Regions from separate parts of the Homo sapiens genome. Here regions 2, 3, 4, 5 and 6 are each linked to region 1. Evidence: promoter capture Hi-C in human tissues and cell types (Jung and others, 2019). All regions are on one chromosome and are shown on one strand. Each heading gives the region's core, a stretch centred on a gene start or on the middle of the fragment in contact. The rest is flanking DNA. Distances are from core to core; before and after follow the strand shown.

The links. The method cuts DNA at HindIII sites, captures the fragments that hold promoters and counts their contacts. A contact is called where the count stands out against the background at its distance.
Region 2: a fragment that was not itself captured here is called in contact with the fragment with the promoter of MEI1 in region 1 in 3 of the 25 tissues and cell types used here (dorsolateral prefrontal cortex, mesenchymal stem cells and mesendoderm cells).
Region 3: a contact is called between a fragment that was not itself captured here and the fragment with the promoter of MEI1 in region 1, in 2 of the 25 tissues and cell types used here (mesenchymal stem cells and mesendoderm cells).
Region 4: a fragment that was not itself captured here is called in contact with the fragment with the promoter of MEI1 in region 1 in 2 of the 25 tissues and cell types used here (dorsolateral prefrontal cortex and mesenchymal stem cells).
Region 5: a contact is called between a fragment that was not itself captured here and the fragment with the promoter of MEI1 in region 1, in 1 of the 25 tissues and cell types used here (dorsolateral prefrontal cortex).
Region 6: a fragment that was not itself captured here is called in contact with the fragment with the promoter of MEI1 in region 1 in 1 of the 25 tissues and cell types used here (dorsolateral prefrontal cortex).

Annotation. Positions count from the first base shown.
Region 1 is chr22:41,696,855-41,701,220 of GRCh38, forward strand. It overlaps MEI1 (meiotic double-stranded break formation protein 1), which reads left to right and starts at 2,649. Exons shown (of 31, transcript NM_152513.4): 1 at 2,649-2,858. The coding sequence starts at 2,685. It also overlaps the pseudogene C22orf46P. RefSeq lists enhancers at 1-18, 29-408 and a silencer at 2,622-2,721. The HindIII fragment of the contact is 9,130 bases long and covers 1,537-4,366 here.
Region 2 is chr22:42,190,820-42,195,185 of GRCh38, forward strand. The region is part of intron 2 of TCF20 (transcription factor 20); the gene reads right to left. Among named protein-coding and RNA genes, the nearest start is that of CYP2D6, 62 kb to the left of the region's middle. The HindIII fragment of the contact is 3,881 bases long and covers 383-4,263 here.
Region 3 is chr22:42,053,386-42,057,751 of GRCh38, forward strand. It overlaps a transcript of WBP2NL not described here. Among named protein-coding and RNA genes, the nearest start is that of NAGA, 15 kb to the right of the region's middle. The HindIII fragment of the contact is 5,927 bases long and covers 1-4,366 here.
Region 4 is chr22:42,028,384-42,032,749 of GRCh38, forward strand. WBP2NL (WBP2 N-terminal like) reads left to right here. Exons shown (of 6, transcript NM_152613.3): 6 at 1-92. Among named protein-coding and RNA genes, the nearest start is that of WBP2NL, 32 kb to the left of the region's middle. The HindIII fragment of the contact is 3,748 bases long and covers 369-4,116 here.
Region 5 is chr22:42,007,190-42,011,555 of GRCh38, forward strand. The region is part of intron 1 of WBP2NL (WBP2 N-terminal like); the gene reads left to right. Among named protein-coding and RNA genes, the nearest start is that of WBP2NL, 11 kb to the left of the region's middle. The HindIII fragment of the contact is 3,157 bases long and covers 1,049-4,205 here.
Region 6 is chr22:41,983,951-41,988,316 of GRCh38, forward strand. SEPTIN3 (septin 3) reads left to right here. Exons shown (of 12, transcript NM_001363845.2): 4 at 2,034-2,162; 5 at 3,256-3,337; 6 at 3,672-3,809. Among named protein-coding and RNA genes, the nearest start is that of WBP2NL, 13 kb to the right of the region's middle. The HindIII fragment of the contact is 7,491 bases long and covers 1-4,366 here.

The DNA.
Region 1 (4,366 bases), core at 1,399-3,898:
TCCTCCCACCGCCCTCACTGTCCTGCCCAAGGGGACAGGCCTCAAGAAGAGCAAACGACTGCTCCTGGAGTCCCTCATGCGGAGGAGGATTGCACACCTGAAGTGGGGTCTTCCCCGGCGGATCCTGGAGTCCTATTTCCTGTTTAACTTCTTAGGATCTTGCTCATTGACCCTTGCTGGGGCGAGGCTCTCTGGACTGAACACAGGCCAGGAGCTCCAAGCCCAGCAGGAAAGGTATTGTGAGGCCCAAGGCTCCCCACCAGGCCTTAAGTCCCCAGAGAGGTTCCAGAGGGTTCAGCGCCCAGACAGAAAAAGCTCGAAACTTCCTATACAAGCCAGAGCTCTGGAGAGGAACAGACCGCACATGTCAGAGCCCATTAAGCATTTCCATCCAGCCTGAAAAGGCCAGGAGAGTCAGGCCACCAGGGGGCGCCAGAGAACCACAGGAGATCCAGGAAGCGCTTGCTAGGACCAAGCTCCCAGCTCCCAGGACCCCCAGGCCGGCAGCGGAGTCCAGGAGCTGGTGTGGCCCACAAAGGGTCGGAGAGCCTCCCAGTGAGAACAGTAGGGGCAGGAAAATGATCAGGTCAAGGGTCTCCCAGCTGGCAGAGAGGGCTCCCAGCAGAGTGAGGACTTCATTCTCTAGGGCAGACCACGCCCACTGGAGGAAGGAATGTACATCCTGGGAGGCCTCTAAGCTCCCCAGACTCAAATGCCAGCAGCTCACATACTGGAGAAGAGGAAGCCTGGAATCTACAGGGTGCAGAGGGGCTGGGCAGCAGCCTTCCTGCCATTCTGCAGAACCTGTCAGCTTCAAAGGGAGGCTCCACTCTGCGGTGGCAAAGCTGGGCCTGACCCTTCTGGCCAAGATGTCCTGGTCCCCACAGCTCGCCAAGCGCAAGCACTTGGCCCCTAACCTGAGCCTGAGGGAACCTGATTCTACTCTGCCTCCCAAAGTGGGTGATCCTCGTGCAGGGGAGGACAGCATCGGAGATCACACTGCTTCACAGAGGGATCTTCAGCTGCAAGGTCACTGCTGTACTGGGGCCACCCTTCCTAAGACAGAGAGTCCCCAGGGCCAGGAGGCACCTGGGAACCCAAATGGGGCTCCACAGAATACACGAGCCTCCAAAAAGTTTAGTATTATGAAGCATCTGAATTTTTTTCTCTTCCAGAATGGCTTTAAAAAGTAGACTCAGGCCCAGAGTCCTCAGGACATATCAGAAAAGCTTTGAGAGTGTCCTGATCCCTGCAAAGCCTCTAATAAATTGGTCATTTGGGCCCTGTGGTGTTCTGATTTCTCTGGCACATTTTCCAAGTGCCCCCTTTCGGGGTTTGGGATACTTTGTGGGTGGGGTAGAAGCCCCTTCCACTCTGTGGTTGTGGTTTAGGGAATGTGGGTCAACCCAGTGTCCTCTCCGAAACACCTGCCCCCCAGCTCCTCACAGTGGAGTCCACTGAGGTTCTATCCTGCTCTGTCTCCAAGCTAATCCTGATTGAGGCAGGACACTCCAAAAGCCTCAGCTGCTTATGGGGAGGGGTGGTCCTCTGCATGGGACGCTTTTTTTTTTTTTTTTGAGATGGAGTGTAGGTCTGTGGCCCAAGCTGGAGTTCAGTGGCTTGATCTCCGCTCACTGTAACCTCCGCCTCCTGGGTTCAAGCGATTCTGCTGCCTCAGCCTCCCGAGTAGCTGGGATTACAGTCATGAGCCACCACACCCAGCTAATTTTTGTATTTTTAGTAGAGGAGGGGTTTCGCCCTGTTGCTCAGGCTGGTCTTGAACTTCTTTCTCTCTGTCTTTGGTGTTTTGTTTTGTTTTTTTACTTTTATTTTTTGGTCTTAAGCTTCTGATTTATTTATTTATTTTTAAGATGGAGTCTTCCTCTGTCACCCAGGCTGGAGTGCAGTGGTGCGATCTTGGCTCACTGCAACCTCCACCTCCCAGGTTCAAGTGATTCTCCTGCCTCAGCCTCCCTCCCAAAGTGCTGTGATTACAGGCATGAGCCAACTCACCCAGCCTCTAATTGCTTTTAGATGCGAATCCTTGGGATCGCTTATTTTCCTTTTTTTTTTTTTTTTTGAGATAGAGTCTTGCTCTGTCGCCAGGCTGGAGTGCAGTGGCACAATCTCAGCTCACTGCAACCTCCGCCTCCCAGGTTCAAGTGATTCCCCTGCCTCAAGCCTCCCAAGTAGCTGGGATTACAGGCACTTGCCACCACACCCAGCTAATTTTTTGTATTTTAGTAGAGACGGGGTTTCACCATGTTGGGTAAGATGGTCTTGATCTCCAGATCTCGTGATCCGCCCACCTCGGCTTCCCAAAGTGCTGGGATTACAGGCGTGAGCCACCATGCCCGGCCTTCATTTTTAAAAAACAGTAGAAATAGCTTCCTTTCCTTCCTTTTTCAAGGCAAATGCCCCCTACTTTATAATTGCTTTTCAACTTTGGATGTGGTAAAGACATTCCTGCAGGGTTCTAAGCACAAACCGCTTTTGGCTTAGCTAGACACGATCCAGAGCACTTGCGTCCACCACTTGCCCTCAGTGGCTGCTGCTCGTCTGAGACTGCAGCGCCCTGGGTCCGCGCAGGCGCATTCCACACCGACGCAGGTCCGTCCTCCAAGTGCGCATGCGTGCAGTCTGCGCGGGAAAGAGTGCCGCCTCAGCTGAGGGCAAGCGAGGAGATGGCTGTGAGGCAGGCGGCGACGGCGGGCACTCCCGGGCCCAGGAGAGAGGAAGAGGCGGCGCTTCTATTCGAGAGGGCCCATTACCGGCACGACCCGCGCTGGCTGCTGCCCGTGACCCCCCGCCTGTGCCTGGCCTGCGCGCTGGAGCTGCTGCCGGACCCCGGCGTGTCGGTGCGGGCGGAACCTTTTCTTCAGAAGACCTGGGTTTGGCCATTTCCCTCAGCAAACGCGGCCAGGCCCTTGCCAGACCCGCTCCGGTGAACCCGACGCGAAACCGGGCCCCCGCGCTGTGTTCACTCTCCTCCCTGTCAGCCCGTCCCGGACCCGGCCGCAGCGGCCTCTCGGGCCCCTCAGCCCCAGGCCGGCCTGCGGGCCTCCGTGGAGCCCGGTCCACTGGCTCTGCGCCTGAAAGGACGGAAATCCGGATCCCCCGGGACCTCACCCAGTCTCAGGGACACACCTTCCCGCCTTCCGCCTTCTGGCTCCTTCCCTTTGCTGCCCCTGCCTCCATTTCCCGGGGATTCGGCCTTAGCTCAGGCTCCCGCCATTTCAGCCTCCCGCCATTTCAGCCTCCACTCACCTGCGGGCCAGGGGCGCATGCGGCGGCCGCTCCTCATTCCCTTCAGCTGTCGGGGTGTGAATCGGAGGAGGGGCAGTCTGGGCTCCGAGGGGACAGGAGTGACAGGTTACAGCCGGGCAGAAGTGGGGGTGAACGGGAAGACTGTTCCTTGGGCAGAGCTGGCCAAAGCGGGCTGCCTGGGTCCTCATTGCCTACCGCGTTTGCAATGAAGTGGTTTTGTTTGTTTCGAGACGGAGTCTCGCTCTGACACCCAGGCCGGAGTGCAATGGCGCCATCTCCGCTCACTGCAACCTCTGTTTCCTGGGTTCAAGCGATTCTCCTGCCTCAACCTACCCAGTAGCTGGGATTACAGGCTCCCGCCACCACGCTCGGCTAATTTCTCTATTTTTAGTAGAGACGGAGTTTCATCATGTTGGCCAGGCTGGTCTCGAACTCTTGACCTCAGGTGATCCACCCGCCTCGGCTTCCCATAGTGCTGGGATTATAGGCGTGAGCCACGGTGCCCGACCTGCAGTGAGTTTTCTTGTCCATGGAGGCATCCAAGAAGACTTTGGGAGGTCAAGTTTCTCTCCAATTCATGGGAGGGGAATTCGTGAGTGGGTGGATTGGCTAGATCAGCAGTTCTCAATTTTTTTTTTTTTTTTTTTTTTTTTTGTAGAAACGGTCCCGGGGGTCTCCCTGTGTTGCCCAGGCTGGTCTTGAACTCCTAGTCTCAAGCAATTCTCCTGCCTTGACCTCCCAAAGTCCAAAGTGTTGGGATTGCATCTGTGAGCCACCGTGCCTGGCTGCGTTCTCAAATATTTTGATTTCTTTCTTTCTTTTTTTTTTTTTTTTTGAGATGGAGTTTCACTCTTGTTGCCCAGGCTGGAGTGCAATGGCGCAATCTCAGCTCACCGCAACCTCCGCCTCCCGGGTTCAAGCGATTCTCCTGCCTCAGCCTTCCGAGTAGCTGGGATTACATGCATGCGTCACTACGCCCAGCTAATTTTGTATTTTTAGTATAGACGGGGTTTCTCCATGTTGGTCAGGTTGGTGTTGAACTCCCAACCTCAGGTGATCTGCCTGCCTCAGCCTCCCAAAGTGTTGGGATTAAAGACGT
Region 2 (4,366 bases), core at 1,073-3,572, 490 kb after region 1:
GCAGGTGATACTAATAATTTCTACCAAGGTGCCCACAAAAAAGAAAGTTCGTAATTATCACACATGGTATGAACTTCAACTGCAGATATGGTAGGCAGATATCAGCCACTTGCTGTGGGTTTTTAATGTTCTGTAACACTGTAACTCTAATTATCCTGGGTTTACAGCCTTCAGGTTCTGCATTAATAAATTTATGGAGGCAAAACAAAGGAGGAACAAAAAACAATTTCCCAAATAAAATACATCCATTTGCCTCAATTTAAGTTAAATCCAATCTATGTCCCCCTTCTGGAAAATTAAAGCATTACTCAAGAAGGCCTGGTTTAGTAATTTTTCTCTTGCACAAAATGTATACGTAGTTTGTTATAATGTTAATATGAAGTCTCATAACTCAGAAGGCCAACACAGGTGTCACTAATGATGTTTCTTTGTGCTAACCAAACTTGCCTTTTTTTCTGAAACACAGTTTGCATTTTATTATTATTTTTTAGATGGAGTCTCACTCTGTTGCCCAGGCTGGAGTACAGTGACGAGATCTTGGCTCACTGAAACCTCTACCTCCCGGGTTCAAGTGATGCTCCTGCCTTAGCCTCTAAAGTAGCTGGATTACAGGCACCCACCATCACGTCCAGCTAACTTTTGTATTTTTAGTAGAGACGGGGTTTCACCATATTGGCCAGGCTGGTCTCGAACTCCTGACCTAAGGTGATCCACCCTCCTCGGCCTCCCAAAGTGCGGGGATTACAGGCATGAGCCACTGCACCCAGCCTGCATTTTATCTTATCTACAGTTATATATACTCCATTAAAATAATCCTAATCAGAGGGTTTCTTTTATAGCCCCAAAAGAAAATTGCCACTGTGCTGAAAACCTTATATATTTTGTCTAACGGAGTTTTTCCTATGTTAAAAGGAGCTTGTGCCCTTTAAGAAATTAGAAAGGAAGGGCACAGAGTGCTAGAGTCCAGGACTAGGTATAAGCCATTGATTAGCACTTTTCCTCTGAATAAAAGCAGAGAACCTGAGAAAAGGCTGAACCCAGCAGGAGTAGGAGACCTGCGGCAGCCCTGTGATGAAGAAAGAGAAGAGCTTTTTCTCAAGTACAGGGAGAGAAATACTTACATAGTTTGAAACACTGAAATTGAAGTTGCACAAGGTCTTGCACTAGCTTATTTTTATTTTACCCTTTGCTCAAACAGTGGATTAGCTTATAAAGAGAAATGATTACATTTTGTGCTTTCTGAATCTAAAAAGGCATCTTTTTAAAGAAATTACACTCCAGGGAAGTGACTCTTGGTGTAAGCTGCTTCTCTCCATGGCTCATCCTACCCAGGAGTTGGGTCTGTGCTTCCAGAAAGCCAATTACTGGAAGCTGCTTATTCACAAGGCACCCATACTGAAATGTTTACAGTTTCAGTGCAGAAACGACAAACCTGCTGCCACAATAGGACTCCCTTAACAAGATTTCAAATCTGTGAAGATCATACTGAAGCGGAAATCTCCAAAGCTGTTCCAAACACTTGGCTCTGGAGGTCTTTCTCATTTTTACTCCTTTCTTCCTACTTGCATTCATATTACCTTCCTCTTTCGCACCCGGAGCCACTGCCATCTCACCAACGCTCTCGCCTGTCCATCTTCTCAAACAGGTTGAGGTATTGTCAGGCAAAGCCACCCTATTCCTGGAAGTGGCAAGTTTTTCAAAGGCAGGGGCAGCCTGACAGGACAGACACTGGAGGCTCAGGAAATAGCAGAGTCCCAGCAGAAAGGAACTTTCAAAAACGAGGATATCTTGATATACTGAAGCTAATGCCAATGAAACTACCACAGGATCACTGGTCCTCAAATCCTAAGCCAGCCCCTGCCACCTCTCAGCCAAGCTTCAGTGGGGTCATTTAATTTGGCAACAACATGAGACATAGTCTCACATCTCATTTCAGGTCACTCCCACAGGTCATGCTCAAACCGGGGCCTTTTCTTCCTGGAAACCTACTGGAAGGAAAAACTACGTCCACACTAGAATGGAAACTTTGGCACCCAAATCTGTGACTAGCTTATGAACCTTCAGTTTTCAGAATTGATTTTTGCATTTCTCAAAGGGTAACTCTGCCACCTGCACCAGCATGGTCCTAAGCTTGAGTTAAAAAACACAGACTGAGGACACTGTCCCAGAAGAGACTGAATGGGAAGCATCCCAGGTTCTTATCCTCAAGAAAGTTTTAGAACTATTGGTTCAATTCATCTTCATAGATATGGAAATTTTCTTCTACATTTCTGTTTCAGAAGATTCCTACCAGATTAGGAAGATACTCAGCAAGAGTACAATCCTCATTTCAACAGAAAAGGAAAAAGGAAAAAAAGAAAAGGAAACTCCAAGAGTCTCCATGAAGAAAATAGAGATCTGGAAGTAATATAACCAAGTTTAGAAATCCTGCATAATTCCTCAATACATCTCCTCCTCCTCCACCTACACTTTTTTTTTTTTTTGAGATAGGGTCTCGCTCTGTCACTCATTCATCAAGCCAAAGAGTTTGAGGTTGCAGTGAGCTTTGATTGTGCCACTGTACTCATAGTGGAACAATCAGAGCTCACTGCAACCTCAAATTCCTGGGCTAGAGGAATCCTCTTGCCTCTACTTCCTTAGTAGCTGGGACCACAGGTGCATACCACTGCACTTGGCTGATTTATTTTTTGTAGAGATGGCATCTCACTTTGTTGCCCAAGCTGGTCTCAAACTCCTGGGCTTAGGCAATCCTCCTACCTCAGCCTCCTGAAGTGATGGGATTACAGATGTGAGCCACCATGCCCAGGCCCAAGATTTAAGTGTCTATTGTTAGGACAGATTTCATTTATCCAACACCTTGACAAGGCAGTCCAGTTATTAACTCCATTTTACAGGTTAAGAAATTCAGCTTAGGGGCTAAGTGATGTTATAGTTTCCCAAGAAGCCAACTCCTACAGATGTCTGGATGAAGGATAAAATATGACCTAAAAGATTCTATAATTATGACTCTTTGCCAACAAAGACCGTCCAGTAAATTCAAGAGCCTCTGTGCTCTCCTTTGGGCCTTGTCTCTGGGCAGTGTGGTGGTCGTATAATAAAAGGTGGTTCTATCACATGACTTTTCTTTCAAGAGTGAGATTAGAAAAAAGCAACAAGTAGAGGATGGGACTGGTCAGATTATTGAAATTGTCTGAAAATACACCAATGACTAAGGGATTTCAGAGTTCCCAAGTCAAATTAAGGAGCTAAAGGCAACAACTGGGTGTTTGCTGGTGGTTTCAGAGCTCCTTGGGGGTCCGTGGGAAAAGTGAGTCTTTATGTGGCTGGATCATTTCCTGGGGTTCTCTACAGCTAATTTGGAAGATCTTAAACAGAGAATCTTCTGGAGCTGAGCAACAAGATTTTTTGTTGGCATATTCACCTTAAATGGAGCTTTTTTCCAAAGGTGGGAAGGGATGAGGTAGGTCTGAGAGAACAGAATGCTGGGTCAGCAAGTTAGTGAGATTCCATTATTGGGAGATGATTTGCTTCAATGAAGAACGGTTTCTGTGGCACTGCTAAAACCCTCGCCCTGCCAGGAGGCGAAACTAAAACATTAGTAGTTGATACAGATACTATCAACAACCCCGGCCGCCTTGCACAATGTTCCTCAGGTCTCTACCAGGGATGCTTAACGCTTATCCCTGTCCTGATGTACCCTAGTGAAGGAACAAGTTGTCACTTGGCCCACAGTGAGAGGGCTAAATACTAATGACTCTGCTTCTGCCTGGGAGAGTGTGGGGTGGGGGCGGGGGTAGCGGTAGATGGTGTTACTGAGAAAGCCAGGCAAAGTGGTTGTTCAGAGCAGAGAACTAAGAGAGTGCTCTTGGTGGACTGTGAGTTTCACAGGGCATGGTGGAGGAGACTGGCAAAGCAGCAGAGTGTGGTTCTTGACATGTGCCTATTTCCCCTGCCACTCACGCTTCAAACCCCCCAAGTCACTCTAGTAGTGGCAGGTCCAAGTGCCACATGGGGAGGGCAGGCCTCTGAGGCCTTACTGACTCAGCCCTCCCTTTGGCCGAGTTAGGTGTAGCTTCTCCACACTTACACAGACCTCACAGTATCCATAGACCATGCCTCCCAGCACTTACACAAGTGCTCACTGAACATAAGGTGGGGCTGCTTTTACCTGCTAAAAACTATCCACTGGAAATTCCTTCATTCTGAAATGGTCATTGTGCATTTCAATGTCTAGGAGGCATCTCAGACTTAACATGAACAAAATACAACTCCTGAATCCCCACCAAACCTGTTCTCTTGGGAGACCCTGGAGGAAGAACAGGTTTGGTGGTGATTCAGGAGTTGTGTTTTTCAACATTCAGGTGGC
Region 3 (4,366 bases), core at 678-3,177, 360 kb after region 1:
ACTGCCAGGCAGGTTTCTACAGTGACTGATGACTAACAATGTAACATGGGCATCTTTTTTTTTCCTCTTTTTCTTTTTCTTTTTCTTTTTTTTTTAAGACCAGAGTCACTCTCACCCAGGCTGGAGTGCAGTGGCGCGATCTCAGCTCACCACAACCTCCACCTCCCAGGTTCAAGCAGTTCTCCTGCCTCAGCCTCATAAGTAGCTGGGACTACAGGTGCATGCCACCATGCCTGGCTAATTTTTGTATTTTTAGTAGAGACAGGGTTTTACTATGTTGGCCAGGCTGGTCTCGAACTCCTGACCTCATGATCCACCTGCCTCGGCCTCCCAAAGTGCTGGAATTACAGGCATGAGCCACCACACCTGGCCAATGTTGGGCATCTTTTCATGAGCTTATTAGCCATTTGTATAACTCTTTGGAGATATGTCTATTCAAATTCTTTGTCTATTTTTAATTAAGTCATTTGTCTTTTTATTAAGTTGTATATATCTGGATACTAGACCCTAGTTGGAGTATATGATTTACAAATGCTGCATCCCATCCTGCGAGTTGTCTTTTAACTTTGTTTATTTTTTATTTAAAAAAAAATGAGACAAGGTCTTACTATGTTGCTCAGGCTCTTGAACTCCTGGCCTCAAGTGATCCTCCCATCCCAGCCTCCCAGTGTGCTGGGATTACAAGTGTATGCGACTGTGCGGGGCCTCTTTTAATTTTCTGGATAGTATACTTTGACACAGAAAAGTTTTGAATTTTGATCAAGTCCAACTTATCTATTTTTTTTGATTGCTTCTGATTTAAAAAAAAAATTTTTTTTTTGAGACAGAGTCTCACACTGTCACCCAGGCTAGAGTGCAGTGGCACGATCACTGAAACCTCCACCTCTCAGGTTCAAGCAATTCTCCTGCTTTAGCCTCCTGAGCAGCTGGGATTACAGGCGCATGGCACCATGCCCAGGTAATTTTTTTTTTTTTTTGTATTTTTAGTAGAGATAGGGTTTCACCTTATTGGCCAGGCTGGTCTCAAACTCCTGACCTCAGGTGATCCACCTGCCTTGGCCTCCCAAAGTGCTGGGATTATAAGCATGACCCACCGTACCCAGCCTGTTTCTGATTTTAGTGTCCTATCTAAGAAACTGTGGCATAATCTAAAGTCACTAAGATTTATACTTATGTTTTATTCTAAGAGTTTTATAGTTTTCAGTCTTACATTTAGGTCTTTTAACCATTTTGAGTTACATTCATTTTTTTTTACATGTGGATATCTAGTTGTCCCAGTGCCATTTATTTAAAATACTATTTTCTAATTGAAGGGTCTTAGTACCTTTGTAAAAAAAAAAAAAAAATCAATTAACTGGCTGGATGCAGTGGTTCATGCCTCTGATTCCAGTGCTTTGGGAGGCCAAGGTGGGAGGTTCGCCTGAACCCAGGGGTTTAAGCCTGCACTGAGCTATGTCACACTAGTACACGCCAGCCTGGGCAACAGAGTGAGACCTGGTGTCTAAAAAAGAAAAAAAATCAATTAGCTATAGATGTATGGGTTTATTTCTGGACTCTCAACTGTATGTCTATTGTTATACCAGTACCACACTGTTTTTATTACTGTAGCTTTTTGGTAGATACTGAAATTGAAAGTGTGTGTCCTCTTTTTCTTTCTTTTCTTTTTTTTCTTGAGATGGAGTTTTGCTCTGTCACCCAGGCTGGAGTGCAATGGTGTGATCTCAGCTCACTGCAACCTCTGCCTCCTGAGTTCAAATGATTCTCCTGCATCAACAGGCACCCACCACCATGCCCAGCTAATTTTTTTTTGAGACTGAGTCTCGCTCTGTCGCCCAGGCTGGAGTGCAGTGGCGCGATCTTGGCTCACTACAACCTCCGCCTCAGGGTTCAAGCGATTTTCCGCCTCAGCCTCCAGAGTAGCTGGGATTACAGGCGCCTGCCACCAAGCCTGGCTAATTTTTGTATTTTTAGTAGAGATGGGGTTTCACCATGTTGGTCAGGCTGATCTGGAACTCCCGACCTCAGGTGATCTGCCCGACTTGGCCTCCCAAAGTGCTGGGATTACAGGTGTGAGCCACCGTGCCTGGCAATTTCAGTCTTTTACAATTTAGTGATACTTATTTTATGGCCTAACATATGGTCTGTCCTAGAGAATGTTTCATTTGTACTGAGAAGAATGTATATTCTGCTGCTATTGGGTGGAATGTTCTGTAAATGTCTGTTAGGTCTAATTGGTTTATAATTAGTATTGGTAATATAATTGGTAACATTTATTGTTGAATTATCTATTTCTGTATTCAATTGTGTCTGGTTTTGCTTTATATATTTGGACTCGTTAGGTATGCTAATGTGTAAAATTATATCTTTTTTGGTGGATTGATCTTCTCAATTTTATAAAATCTTTTGGATCTAGTAACAATTTTTGTCTTAAAGTCTTTTTCTGATATTAACATAGACCCTCCCCCCAACCCTAGTACTTTTGCTACCATTTGCTTGGTGTATCTTTTTCTGTCCTTTTACTTCCAACTTATGTCTTTGAGTCTAAAGTGTCTCTTAAACAAAGCACATTTTTGGATTGTGTGTGCACTTGGGTGTGTATCTTTTAAATGCATTCTGTCGATCTATGTTTAATCCATTTACATGTAATTATTGATAAGGTTTATACATTTGTCATTTTACTATTTGTGTGTTATGTCTTAAGTCTCTTTTGTTCCACATTTCTTCCATTACTGCCTTTTTTGTGTTAGACATTTTATTTTGTACCATTTTATCTCTATCATATATTTACTAGATTTTTAAAGTTTTTTTGTGGTTGCCATAGGGATTACCATTAACATCTTATTCTGAACTATCTCATTCTGATTAATACTAATTCATGCCACTTGTATACAAAAATTTTGCTTCTTATATAGCTGTTCCCCTCCTCCTTTATGCTGTTATTGTTACAAATGACATCTTTATACATAGTCTACCCATCTTAGTTTATAATTACTGCATTTAAGTTACCTTTTAAATCAGATGGGGACAAAAAATGAGTTACAAACCAAAATCATTTATATTTACTTATGTAGTTCCATTTACTGGTGCTCTTTATTTCTCCATGTGGATTCAAGTTACTAGTTTCCTTCCATTTTGGCCTGAAGGATGTCCTTTAGTATTTTATGTAGGGCAGGGTGGCTAGAGATGAACTCTGTTTTTGTTTATCTGGGAATGTTTTCATGTTGCCTTCATTTTTGAAAGATAGTTTGGCCAAATAACAAATTTTTTCATAGTCTTTTTCTTTCAACACTTTGAATATGTCAACCCACTGCCTTTTTTTTCATTTTTAATTTTTGTGGCTGCATAGTAGGTGTATATATTTATGGAGTACATGAGATGTTTTGATACAGGCATTGCATTCCTGTAATAATCACATCATGGAAAATGGGGTATCTAGTGCCTCAAGCATTTATCCTTTGTGACAAACAATCCAATTATACTTAGTTATTTTTAAATGTACCCATTGCCTTCTTGTTTCCATGGTTTCTGATGAGAAGTCAGTTGTAAATCTTATTGAGACTCCCTTGTGTGATGAGTTGCTTTTATCTTGCCTCTTTCAAAATTCTGTCTTTTGAGGGTTTGATTATGATATGTCTAGGTATGGAGCTCTTTGAGTTTAACCTACTTGGAGTTCACTGAGCTTCTTGGATAGGTAGATTAATATTTTCCATCAAATGTGAGACATTTTCAACCATTCTTTCTTCCAATATTCTGCCCCTTTCTCTTTTTTTATGTGTATATGGGTACATTTGGTGGTATCCCAAAGGTTTTAGAAGTTTTGCTCATTGTTCTTCATTCTTGTTTCTTTCTTTTTCTCAGAGAGGTTAATTTCAACAGATCTGTCTTCAAGTTTGCTGATTCTTTTTCTGTCAAATCTACTATTATTAAACCTCTTCAGTGAATTCTCATTTCAACTATTGTACTTTCCAACTTCAGAATTTGTGCTTTCTTCCCCACTACAGTTTTATCTCTTCTTTGTTATTCTGTTTGGGCATCATTCTTATTCTTTCCTTTATTTCTTTAGACCCGGCTTCCTTTGGCTCTTTGAACATGTTTAAAATAGCTGATTTAAAATCTGGTAATAAGGTAAAATACCACATAGCTTGCTGTTTCTACTAGAATTCAACTTTTTTTTTTTTCAGTTGAAGTTTTCTGGGTTGCCGCAAGCTTTTGGCTAATTTCCAGAGTTCTGTGAAAGTTGATTTTGATAGTATGTGGCAGGTTTTTCAATGCTTTTATGAAGGGAGCAAACTTTCAGTAGTTCGTACTGGACTATTTTACTGGATCTTGATTTAGACAAACTATAGAGATTTTTGAGACAACTGGC
Region 4 (4,366 bases), core at 993-3,492, 330 kb after region 1:
TTGTAGATAATTGCATATGATTCCACACCATTTCAACCAAAATTAATAGGCCATAAATGTGATAGAGGAAATAAAAGGAGTTTGTAGTAAAATTTTAAGTGTTTTAATATATAAATGCTCAGATTCTACCACACTAGAAGACATACTGAAGTAATCAAGGGTTCACTCCCATATACATAGTCAGCATAGGTATAAAGATTAGAAGTGCTAACTGATATGAATATGTTGCTTTGGTGACTTGAATACCATTGCTATTGGCAATATTGTTCTCCAAAATGGTGAACAACCTTTGAAAATTTTCCAAATAAAACAAAGTTTAGTCTTCCCTTGATTTACACAGTGGTTGAATTCCTGAAAATTTCTGTATATATTAAAGTCATATAAAACAGAGTTAGGCTGTAGGCTCAAATGATTATAAACATGCTTCACCTACATCACTGGCTGGAGAGCCATTTGAAAGTCAGGAGACATAGGACAATTAAGGTACTGCCCTGTACGTTTCAGGATGTCTTGCATCTTCGACTCCTCACCCATTAAGTGCCAATAATGGCCTCCAATTGGGATAACCAAAAATGCTCCCACTTATTTCCTAATTGCTCCCTGGGGGGCAGTACCATCCCTGCTGAGGACCACTATTCTAGACTGTTTCAAGGCTTTCAGCCCCTTCAGAGCTCACCATTCTCCCACTCTGGCAAGGCAGGCAAAGTTCTTAATTTCATTGGCCTTTCCTTATCTTATTGTAGGCTCATCAAGCCACCTAAAAGGGAGGCCTTAAAAATACATTAGTAGCCAGGTGTGGTGGCACATGCCTGTAATCCCAGCACTTTGCACTTTGATAGGATAAGGTGGGAGAATCACTTGAGGCCAGTTCAAGACCAGCTTGGGCAATATAGCGAGACCCTGTGTCTAGGAAAAAAAAAAAAAAAAAAAAAAAGCCAGGTGTTGTGGTGTGCACTTGACCCAGAAGACATTTAAATCAATATATTTTCTATGCATTTTTTTTTTTGAGACAGAGTCTTGCTTTATCACCCAGGCTGGAGTGCAGTGGCACAATCTTGGCTCACTGCAACCTCCACCTCCCAGGTTCAGGCAATTCTCGTGCCTCAACCTCCTGAGTAGCTGGGATTACAGGCAGGTAAAACCATGCCCAGCTAATTTTTTTTATTTTTATAGAGATGGGGTCTGGCCATGTTGGCCATGCTGGTCTTGAACTCCTGGCCTCAAGCAATCCTCCTGTCTCAGCCTCCTGAAGTGCTGGGATTACAGGCATGAGCCACTGCGCCTGGCCTTCTATGCATATTTCTTATATGTAGTTGAAATCATGCTATATAATGTTTCACCAGATATTTTACATTTTCATAGGTTTTGAAGAAATGCTTGTAAATATTGTTAGTGACCACATAATATTCTGTGACACAGTTACACCATAACGTATTTTCTCAGTCCCTCTTTTAAGGTATTTGAATTGTTTCCAGGTTTTTGTTATTACAACTTCATGATTAACTTCTTTGTATATGGAGCTTTTTAAAAGTTTTAAATGCTTTCCTTAACACAGCTTAGAGTCATTGATTGATCTGCATTGTGAAAATTAGGAAACCAGATGCTCCCATGTTCTCAAGGACAGCCTTTCTTAAGGAAGTCAGGTAGATATTAATGGGTTTTATGTGAAATGGAGTAACTGGGTTAAATATAATTGAAAAAGACAAGAAAACTGGTTTCTTTACTACTTCTTAGAGCCTTGACTATACTAATGGACATAATCTCCAAGAAGGAGAGATTTTCAAAATTTACAGTTTTTTCAAAATTATTTGATTTTAGAATATTCAGTAAACATTTTGTTCAGTGGAAGAAACTGAGAAACACTTTCTGGAATTATGGGATATTAGAATTAGAATGGACTTCAGGTATCTGGAGTATGCTAGACCTTAAAGCTCTTTCCAAAAATGAAGACAAGTCAAAAGACCATTCTTCCTTCCATTCCAAATAAAAGAGCTTTATATCCAATTTACAGAAAGCAGGGTGGGACATCTTGAAGATAAAATATATAGAAAGTAGCTGCTGCTTCCTCTCAGAAATTACTGGGATAGAGTTATGGGTCTAGGAAGCTGGAATGTCAAAACACAGGGACAGCCACTTTGCCCAGGCAACTGGCATGAAGGGAAGAAGTGAAAAGGGAAAGTGTGGCTGTAAACCTCTCTAAAGTTTCCAAACAGGGAATCCAGGCAATATTGGATCTTAAACATGGGTCATAGGATCTGGCGCTTTTATCCCTAAAATTTTTGGAGGAAAATAACGAGATATTTTAAGTTTCTTCTTTTCTTACTTCCAAACTACAGTACGTGGGCAACAGTGATGAGAGGAAGAGAGGAGAGACTCAACCAACTAGAGCAGGGATAAGGTTTCCCTTGTTCAGCTTTTCAGTGTCTGCTGGAATGTGATGGTAAGTTGAGAACAGGGTGAATGGGTGAGGCCTTTTTTATATCAGAAAGTTTTCCGAGTAACTGATCTCTGGCAAATATTTGGGGATTAGAATTCTAAAAGAATACAAACTAGACTTCTCTTCTGCTCTTCATGTTAGTTATACTTGTACCAGGTAGATTTGAGGTGGGGTCCAGTTACCTGAAAAGCGTAGCAGGTTCGAGTTTCTTAAAGGTGGAATTCCACCATGTTCTCCTGTGCAAAGGGTACCTGTTTACCTGGTCCACCAAACTGCCCCAGTACAACCAAAGGCTGTGACTGTGTAAGGATAGAACCAAGTGGAGCCACAGTTTGGACCCACGTGGTGCTGCGTGGCACACCTACTGTTAGTTAGCTCCCACTGTCTGGTACAGTTGTTTCCCCCAAAGGCTCAGTCCAATTTGTTCTATAAGAAGAGCTTTGTGTCCTGTATATTCAAAGGACCCTGGTTTTTGCTTTGCTGAGGACAAATCCAGTCAGAATTCAGCTGAGCCTTCTGCATGCTGAGAGCACTCATGTGCTGAGTTCCTCAGCTCCTCACTGACGTTTTGAGTACTTTCTTTCTGACTCACTCACTGTGCTGGTGGATTCCGCTCTTCCTGTCTCTTCCCCAGCTGCAATACAGAAACTATACTCTGTTGTCTACTCTTTCATTTCCTATTAGAAATATAAAGGGATAGAAATAAGAAGACCTTTTAGTCCTGGACTATCTGGTATTGGCCCCTAAAATGAGCCTCCAAATACTCCTTTTCATGGGTAAGTGGATGCTCCCCAGCCTGCTGGAGCAGAACCTTCCTGGCTCAGCTACCCTGAGATATCAGGACAAAAACATATAGTTGGTGTGATTTTCCTCTTTTTGTTTTTTTTTTTTTCAAGATAGAATCTGGCTCTGTCCCCCAGGCTGGAGTGCAGTGGCGCGATCTCGGCTCACTGCAACCTTTGCCCCACAGGTTTAAGCGATTCTCCTGCTTCAGCCTCCTGAATAGCTTGGATGACAGGTGCCTGCCACCATGCTCGGCTAATTTTTGTGTTTTTAGTGGAGACAGGGTTTCACCATGTTGGCCAGGCTGGTTTCGAACTCCTGACCTCAAGTGATCCACCCGCCTCGGCCTCCCAAAGTGCTGGGATTACAGGCATCGGCCTGTGCCTGGCCGATTTTTCAATCCATAGATTAATATGTTCAAGAAATATTGCATGTCTTTGTTTTCTGTAAATTTATTTCTGTTACCAAGATCCCCACCACCATCTGCTTTGTTGGTGGGCTTCTCACAAATCCTAAGATTATGCAAAGGTATCCAGATTTTATTTGGCACCAAGATGCTGAGAAGTTTCTTCTGGTCATCAGACTGCTTCTGAAACAGCCACTATCCAGTCCTGGCAGTCCCGTCAAGTCTAAAAGCTTGTTGCCTTGGGACCCCAGAATCTTAGGTAGGGCTTAGAACCAGGGTGTCAGAGATCCAACTCTGTGTACCATATTGCTCCTTAGAACTGGGGAGTAGGACCCCAAAGGCCTCCTTATCCTTGAGAGTCTGACAATTCCTTAAACTTCCAGATTCTGCCCTCTCAGCTGTGCTGTTGGTCTGCATCACCTCTATCTCTTAAGCATCTATCCTAATCCAAATCTCAGGATTTGGGTTTACCCAAAAGGTAATAGAAAGCCTTTGCCTTCATGTTGACTTGGCTTTCCTTGCCTAGCACTTGGTTGCTTGCTTGAAAATCATGTATGTATATATATAAAATGTAGAAGCCCAATTCAAATTAATAATGTAAAAATTTATTCTGTTACACAGATTACCTCATTGTCAGGTAGGAAGTGAAACGTATGATATTCTTCCTGGCCTTTGCCTTGAGAGTCTTCTGGAGCCTGAAGAGGGTGGGGCAGACAACCATGGACTGCTAGAGAATAAAC
Region 5 (4,366 bases), core at 1,377-3,876, 310 kb after region 1:
CCTAATCTGGAATAGTCTGGGTTTTTGTTTTGTTTTTTGTTTGTTTGTGGTTTTTTTGGTCATTACTATAAACATTCCTGCAATGAACATTTTTGAAAACATAATTTTGCCTACCTGTCAAAATGTTTCTTTGGGATAGGGGAATTGTGAGGTCAGAGGATTAGACTTTTAAAAAGAGATTAAAAATATTTATTGAAAATATAAAAATCATTGTTCAAAATATTAAAGTATACATGACTTTACATTAAAATACACTTATTGCAGAATTGCCCTACAGAATTATATCAATTTACATTCCTCTCAGTACTCTGAGTGCCCACTTCACCATACTTTTCCCAACAATTCTGTTCCCATTAAACAATTCCCTCTATCCCTCTCCCCATGACACCTAGTAACAACCATTCTACTTTCTGTTTCTATGAATTTGACTACTTCAGATACCTCATGTAAGTGTAATGACAATATTTGTCTTTTTGTGGCTGGTTTATTTAACTTAGCGTAACATCCTCAAGGTTCGTCCATGTTACAGCATGTGACAGGATTTCCTTCTTTTAAGGTTGAAAAATATTCCATTGTATGTATGTGCCACATTTTGTTTATCCATTCATGCACTGATGGACATTTAGGTTGCTTCCACCTCCTGGTTATTGTGAATAGTGCTGCTATCAACATAAGTATTCAAATATCTATTTGAGACACTGCTGGCAATTCTTTTGGATGTATACCCAGAAGCAGGATTGCTAGCTTGTACGGTAGTTCTATTTTTAATTTTTTTTGAGGAGCCTCCGGACTGTTTTCCATAGCAGCTACTCATTTTACATTTCTAGCAACAGTGCACAAGAGTTCCGGTTTCTCCACATCCTCACCAACACTTGTTTTTCTTCTCTTCTCTTCTCCTCTTCCTTTCCTTTCCTTTCCTTTCCTTTCCTTTGCTTTCCTTTCCTTTCCTTTCCTTTCCTTTCCTTTCCTTTCCTTTCCTTTCTCCCTCCCTTCCCTCTCCCTCCCCCTCCCCCTCTCCTCCCCTCCCTTCCCTTTTTTTGACAGAGTCTCACTCTGTCACTCAGGCTGTAGTGTAGCAGCAGGATCTTGGCTCATTGCAGCCTTAGCTTCCGGGGTTCAAGTGATTCACATGCCCTCAGCCTCCTGAGTAGCCAGGATTACAAGCATATGCCACTACACCCAGTTTTTTGTATTTTTAGTAGAGACGGGGTTTCGCTGTGTTGGCCAGGCTGGTCTCAAACTCTTAGCATCAAGTGATCCACTCACCTTGGCCTCCCAAAGTGCTGGGATTACAGGCATGAGCCACCATGCCTGGACCTGTTGGTTTTTTAAATATTAACCATCCTAATGGGTATAAAGTGATGTCTCATTGTGGTTTTGATTTGTATTTCTCTGATGATTAGTAATGACAATCTTTTTATATGCTCATTGGCCATTTGTGTATTATTGCTCTTGTTGCCCAGGCTGGAGTGCAATGGTGCGATCTCAGCTCACTGCAACCTCTGCCTCCCAGGTTCAAGTGATTCTCCTGCCTCAGCCTCCTGAGTAGCTGGGATTACAGGTGCCCACCACCACACCTGGCTAATTTTTTTTATTATTTTTTTTCTAAGATGGAGTCTCGCTCTGTTGCCCAGGCTGGAGTGCAGTGGCACGATCTTGGCTGACTGCAAGCTCCGCCTCCCAGGTTCACACCATTCTCCTGCCTCAGCCTCCTGAGTAGCTGGGACTACAGGTGTCCACCACCACGCCCGGCTAATTTTTTCTATTTTTTAGTAGAGACGGGGTTTCACCGTGTTAGCCAGGATGGTCTCGATCTCCTGATCTTGTGATCCACCCGCCTCAGCCTCCCAAAGTGCTGGGATTACAGGCGTGAGCCACTGGGCCTGGCCAATTTTTTTGTATTTTTAGTAGAGACAGGGTTTCACCATGTTGGGCTGGCTGGTCTTGAACTACTGACCTCAGTTGATCCACCCACCTTGGCCTTGTGCTGGGATTACAGGGAGCTCTTTACATACTCTAGATATTAAGCCCTTATCATAAATACAATTTGAAATATTTTCTCCCATTCCATAGGTTGCTGTTTCATTCTGGTGATTGTGTCCTTTGATACACAATTTTTAAGTTTGATATAGTCCAATTTATTTATTTGTTCTTTTGTTGCCGGTGCTTTTGTTTTTTTATCCAAGAAGTCATTGACAAGTCCAATGTCACGAAGATTTTCAGTATGTTTTTTTCTAGGAGTTTTATAGTTTTGGGTCTTATGTTTAAGTCTTTAATCCATTTTGAGTTAATTTTTGCATACTATGTAAGATAAAGGTATGACTTCATTCTTTTGCATGTGGATATCCAGTTTTCTAAAAGGACATCATTTGTTAAATAGATTGTCTTTTCCTCACTGAGTCATCTTAGTACCTTTGTTGAAGATTATTTGATCAATTCTCACATATATGTGAAGATTTGTTTCTATTCTAGTCCATTGGTTTGTTTATCTTTAATGCCAGTATCATGCTGTTTTGGTTACTGTAGCTTTGTAATATACTTTGAAATCAGGAAGTGTGAATCCTCTTTGTTCTTCTTTTTAAAAATTATTTGGCTTTTTGGGGTCCCTTGAGATTCTATATGAATTTTATGATGTCGCTTTCTGTTTGTGCAAAAAGTGTTGTTGAGATTTGGTAGGGATTGTGTTGAATCTCTGAATCACTTGAGTAGCCTGGACGTCTTAGCCTTATTAAGTTTTCAAATCCATGAACATGGGATATCTTTCCATTTATTTATGTCTTCAATATTTTTCACTAATGTTTTATAGTTTTCAGTGTACAAACCTTTCACCTCCTTGGTGAGGTTTATTCCTAAGTATTTTATTCTTTTTGATGCTATTGTAAATGGAATTATTTCCTTAATCTCCTTTTTGGATCATTCATAATTAGTGTATAGAAATGCAACTATATTTGTGGGTTGATTTTATATGCTGCTACTTTACTGAATTCACTTATTTTGACAGCTTTTTGGTGGACTCTTTAAGTTTATTTACATATAAGATCACGCCATCTGTGAACGGAGTTAATTTTACTTCTTCCTTCCAAATTTGAATACCATTTATTTATTTATTTTATTTTTTGCCTAATTGCTCTGGCTAGGACTTCCAATACTATGTCGAATAGAAGTGGTGAAAGCAGGCATCCTTGCCTTGTTTCTAATCTTAGAGGGGAAGCTTTCAGTCTTTTGCCATTCAGTATGCTGTTAGCTGCAGGCTTTTCATATATGGCTTTTATTATGTTGAGGTAGCTTCCTTCTACTTTTAGTTTGTTGAGTGTTTTTATCATGAAAATATATTGAACCTTTTCTTTTCTTTTTTTTCTTTTTTTTTGAGACGGAGTCTCGCTCTGTTGCCCAGGCTGGAGTGCAGTGGCGCAATCTCGGCTCACTGCCAGCTCTGCCTCCAAGGTTCACGCCATTCTCCTGCCTCAGCCTCCTGAGTAGCTGGGACTACAGGCGCCCACCACCACACCCGGCTAATTTTTTGTATTTTTAGTAGAGATGGGGTTTCACCGTGTTAGCCAGGATGATCTCGATCTCCTGACCTCGTGATCCGCCCGCCTTGGCCTCCCAAAGAGCTGGGATTACAGGCGTGAGCCACCACGCCTGGCCAAAAATATACTGAATCTTTTCATATGCTTTTTCTGCATCGATTGTGATGATCGCATGGTTTTTTCCCTTCATTTTGTTCATATGGTGTGTTACATTGATTCATTTTCCTATGCTGAACCATCCTTGCATTCTAGGAGTAAACCCCATTTGGTCATAGTGTATAGTCCTTTTAATGTGCTGCTGAATTTGGTTTGCTAGTATTTTGTTGAGGATTTTTTACATCAATATTCATCAGAGATACTGACCTGCAATTTTATTTTATTGTAGTTTCTTTGTCTGGCTTCGGTATCAGGGTAATGCTGGCCTCATAAAGTAAGCCTAGAAGTGTTTCTTCCTCTTTAATTTTGGGGAAGAGTTTCAGAAAGATTAGTTAATTCTTTAAACGTTTTGTATAATAGAATTTGTTGAGAGGTTTTTTTTTCTCTTTTTGAGACAGGTTCTCACTCTGTCACCCTGTCTGGAGTGCAGTGATGTGACATGATCACAGCTTACTGCTGCCTCAATCTCCGAGGCTCAAGTGATCCTCCCACCTCAGCCTCCCGAGTAGCTGGGACTACAGATGTGTGCCACCACACCCAACTTTTTTTTTATATATTTTGTAGAGATGAGGTTTTCAAGTTGCCTAGGCTGGTCGGAAACTCCTGGCCTCGAGCAATCCTCCTGTCTCAGCCTCCCAAAGTGCTGGGATTAAAGGCATGAGCCACCACACCTAGCTGAG
Region 6 (4,366 bases), core at 987-3,486, 290 kb after region 1:
TAATGAATGAATGCTCTTAGAAAACATCTCAGAGCAAGCATGGCAAATCCAACACCCGTGAGCCACTTCTCTCCCCAGTGGTGTGCATGGCAGACTGCTAGTCAGTCATGGCACGTGTTCAGTGCTGAGCCCAGATGTAGCCTTTTTAACATAATGGTCTAGGTGACTACTACCAGATAATCAGCAGGAATGAGAAATGCACCTTATTTACCATCCCTGGTCTTGTCCAATTTCCTCTCTCCTCACCATCCTATCAGTAAAGAAACCAAGGCATGACTAATCCAAAGGCATTCAGGGAAAACAATGCAGGTGGGTCTGGAACTCTAGGCCCTTGTCCCCCAGCATGGTTCTTTTTCTAATATAATCACAAGAATTCACCAGCCCAGTATTTCTTAGATCTTATTGTCCATAGGACTCTTCTGGAAGCCCAGTTAAAATGCAGATTCAGAATCATAGGTCTGGGGTGGGGCCTGAGATTCTGCATTTCCTACTAGTGTCCGGGCAATGCCGAGGCTGCTTGTCAATTGCAAGTCTTTCTTGTGGGATTCTTGTACGTGTTGAAGTTTGAGAAGCTCTGCTCAGACCAGTGGGTTTGTTTCTTTTGAGACAGAGTCTCGCTGTGTTGCCCAGGCTGGAGTACAGTTGCGTGATCCCGGCTCACTACAGCCTCTGCCTCCTGGGTTCAAACGATCCGCAGCCTCCTGAGTAGCTAGGACTACAGGCATGTGCCACCATGCCCGGCTAATTTTTGTATTTTTAGTGGAGACAGGGTTTCACCATGTTGGCCAGGCTGGTCTCGAACTCCTGGCCTCAAGTGATCTGCCCGCCTTGGCCTTCCAAAGTGCTGGGATTACAGGCATGAGCCACTGCACCTGGCCTGACCAGTGGTTTTCCCTTTTTTTTTTTTTTTTTTTTTTTTTGAGACGGAGTCTCGCTCTGTCGCCCAGGCTGGAGCGCAGTGGCGCGATCTCAGCTCACTGCAAGCTCTGCCTCCCAGGTTCATGCCATTCTCCTGCCTCAGCCTCCTGAGTAGCTGGGACTACAGGCGCCTGCCACCACGCCGGGCTAATTTTTTGTATTTTTTTTAGAAGAGACGGTGTTTCACCGTGTTAGCCAGGATGGACTCGATCTCCTCCTGACCTCATGATCCGCCTGTCTCGGCCTCCCAAAGTGCTGGGATTACAGGTGTGAGCCACGGCAAACGGCCTGACCAGTGGTTTTCAAATGTTCTTTAGCTGTGAAACTTTTCCTTGAAATGAAATCTTCTGCAGATATGCATCTGGAAAACAGGTGAAAGGGAGCCATAGCGAAGGAAGTGGATGCAGGGGCCCTGCCTGCCCAGCCTCCTCCTCCTCTCACAGTGCCCTCTCTGGCATGTATCTTCACAGGACACTAAGGCTTCTGGGAGCACAATCTAAAAACCACTACACTAGAAGAAAGAGTGGATATAGAGCCAAGATGTTATTAGGGTTTGAGTTCCTGGTCTTGCATGTATTAGTTATGTTGCTCTGCACATATTTTGTTAGAAGAGGATTCATCTCTCTAGGACCATCTCAACTGAGGATAAAGATAGTTCTGCTTCAGGATCCACAGGGCTGATATAAAAATGAATTTGGCTAACAAATGTGAATGTACAATATGCACTGTGAGGCAGTATCAGGATGCAAAGTCATTCTATTTTTCCTTTTAGTATCATTAAAAAGTGAAAACCTAAGCAAAAAATGGAATCACGAGAAAACAGAAAACCACGACACTAGACATATGCAGAGGTTGTCCCTTTTCCCAGTGGTCCTGTGGCTCTGGGAAGGAGAGAATATGGAATCCAAGTGATGTTTCCCCAAGGCCCTCTGCAGTAAGCAGGAAGCCATTCCCACCTGCCTGCAATCCCCACTCAGCCTGGCCATCCCCCAGTGAGTGGTCAGACAAGGTGTGGCCTGGATCATGGCTCTAGAATTCTGTAAGCTTATGGAGAAATATTAGGCTCAGGAGGTGGATGCAGAGTCTCCCTACCTCCTCCTCCTGCTTTGCTGTAGGCCAGAGTGGACTGGGCAAATCAACGCTGGTCAACACGCTCTTCAAATCCCAAGTGAGCCGCAAGGCCTCCAGCTGGAACCGGGAGGAGAAGATCCCCAAGACAGTGGAGATCAAAGCTATCGGGCATGGTGAGGACCAGGCAGGGACCCCTATGGGCTTTGTTCAGTGAGTGCCTCTGCTGGAAAGGGGAAAGAATGGGGCTTATTGAAGAATAAGATCAATAAAAGGCAACCTTAAGACAAAACAGACGTGAGCACTTCACTCTGAAGCAAACTCCTTAGACTGCAGGTTCAGGGAAGAGAGAGCAGGGAGCTCGAATGGAAGGAGGTGAGATTTGAGGTGGATGATAAAGTACAGGATTTAGACAGGTAGAAAGAGGTAAGGAGTGGGCAGGTACGGTGGCTCATGCCTGTAATCCCAGCACTTCGGGAGGCCAAAGTGGGAGGATCGCTTGAGTCATGGAGTTCGAGACCATCTTGGTCAACACAGTGAAACCCTGTCTCTTTTTTTGTTTGTTTGTTGTTTGTTTTTTTGAGACGGAGTCTTGCTTTGTCGCCCAGGCTGGAGTGCAGTGGTGCGATCTCGGCTCACTGCAAGCTCCACCTCCCGGGTTCACGCCATTCTCCTGCCTCAGCCTCCTGAGTAGCTGGGACTACAGGCACCCGCCACCACGCCCGGCTAATTTTTTTTGTATTTTTAGTAGAGATGGGGTTTCACTGTGTTAGCCAGGATGGTCTTGATCTCCTGAGCTCGTGATCCGCCTGCCTTGGCCTCCCAAACTGCTGGGATAACAGGCGTGAGCAACCACGCCCGGCCCGAAACCCTGTCTCTTAAAAAAAAAATTAGCTGGGTATGATGGTGCATATCTGTAGTCCTAGCTATTGGGGAGGCTGAGGCGACAGCATCACTTGAGCTGGGGAGTTCGAGGCTACAGTGAGCTGTGATTGCACCACTGCACTCTAGCCTGGGTGACAGAGTGAGACCCTGTCTCTTAAAAAAAATAAAAGAAGAAGAAAAAGAAATGAGTAGAGAGGGTATTCCAGATTCCAGGTACAGGGAACAGCATAAGCCATGATATCGAGATGGAAAAGACCCTAAATTTGACTTTTCCAATAACTGATCCTGAAGACAAGGCCTGGGTCTCCCTGGCTAGTAGGCTGCCAGGTACCTGGGGTCAGCTGTAGGACTGACCTCTCTGGTACATTTTCTTTTCACCCCCAGTGATAGAGGAAGGCGGTGTCAAAATGAAGCTGACCGTCATCGACACCCCAGGCTTTGGAGACCAAATCAACAATGAAAACTGGTATCTGTCTGCCTCTGAGATCTTTGCCCTAAAGACTCTGCTGGGAAGATACTTACTATGGTGCAGATTCATTCACGTTGAGAACCATCTGCACCCTCCATGCTCTGTAGTTCCCGACAGCCCAGGCCAGGGCCCCTGGGGAGCTCCACCCCTGCTAACTAACCATCCAGGAAAGCCATCGGTGCGGGGGCTGAGGGGGAATCTGGCAGCAGGTATCCTAGGCCCACCAACCAGGGAATGACATGAATGTAAGGAGATTGCTACCAGATCATGCCTAAGCTGAGCCCTAGGTCTTGTTCTTCTGATGCATCTATCTACTTTCCCTCCCCATCAGCTGGGAGCCCATTGAGAAGTACATCAATGAGCAGTACGAGAAGTTCCTGAAGGAGGAGGTCAACATCGCCAGGAAGAAACGCATCCCTGACACTCGTGTCCACTGCTGCCTTTACTTCATCTCTCCCACAGGACACTCGTATGTACCAACCCTACCCCTATTGTCAGGCCTGGTCTGGTTTGTATCATCTGTGCCCATCTGGATTGGATGATCCATACGTTGACTCAGCTAGGCCTCCCTAGCTGAGTCCTAGCCCTTCCAGCCAGATGGGTTGGTACATAGTCATGGCCCATGACCTTGGGATTCCCTAGACTTTCCACGAGGAAGTTTGACTTTCTTGCTAGGAGGTTAAAGCTGTCCAACATCAGCCACCAATATCTGCCCACTGGTGTCCCAGCAGCATGGCACAACTGTATCAGCAAAGAGGACTTGGTGAATGTGAGCAGAGGGCACTTCATTTATTCACCAAATACCTGCTTTGGAAAATAATTGGAGTCGGAGGGAGCAGCAAGAAGGGTGAAATAGGGCAGTGCAGGGCTCCTGGATTGGGGCTGGTGTTTGGAGGGTAGGGACCCAGTTGTAGGCATTTAGAAGGTACCAGCCTGGAGTGAGGCATTGTGTGTTCAGAGATGAAGGCCAACCATTGTCATGAAGTACTATCTGATAGGCAGAATAAGACACACACAAGCATGTTG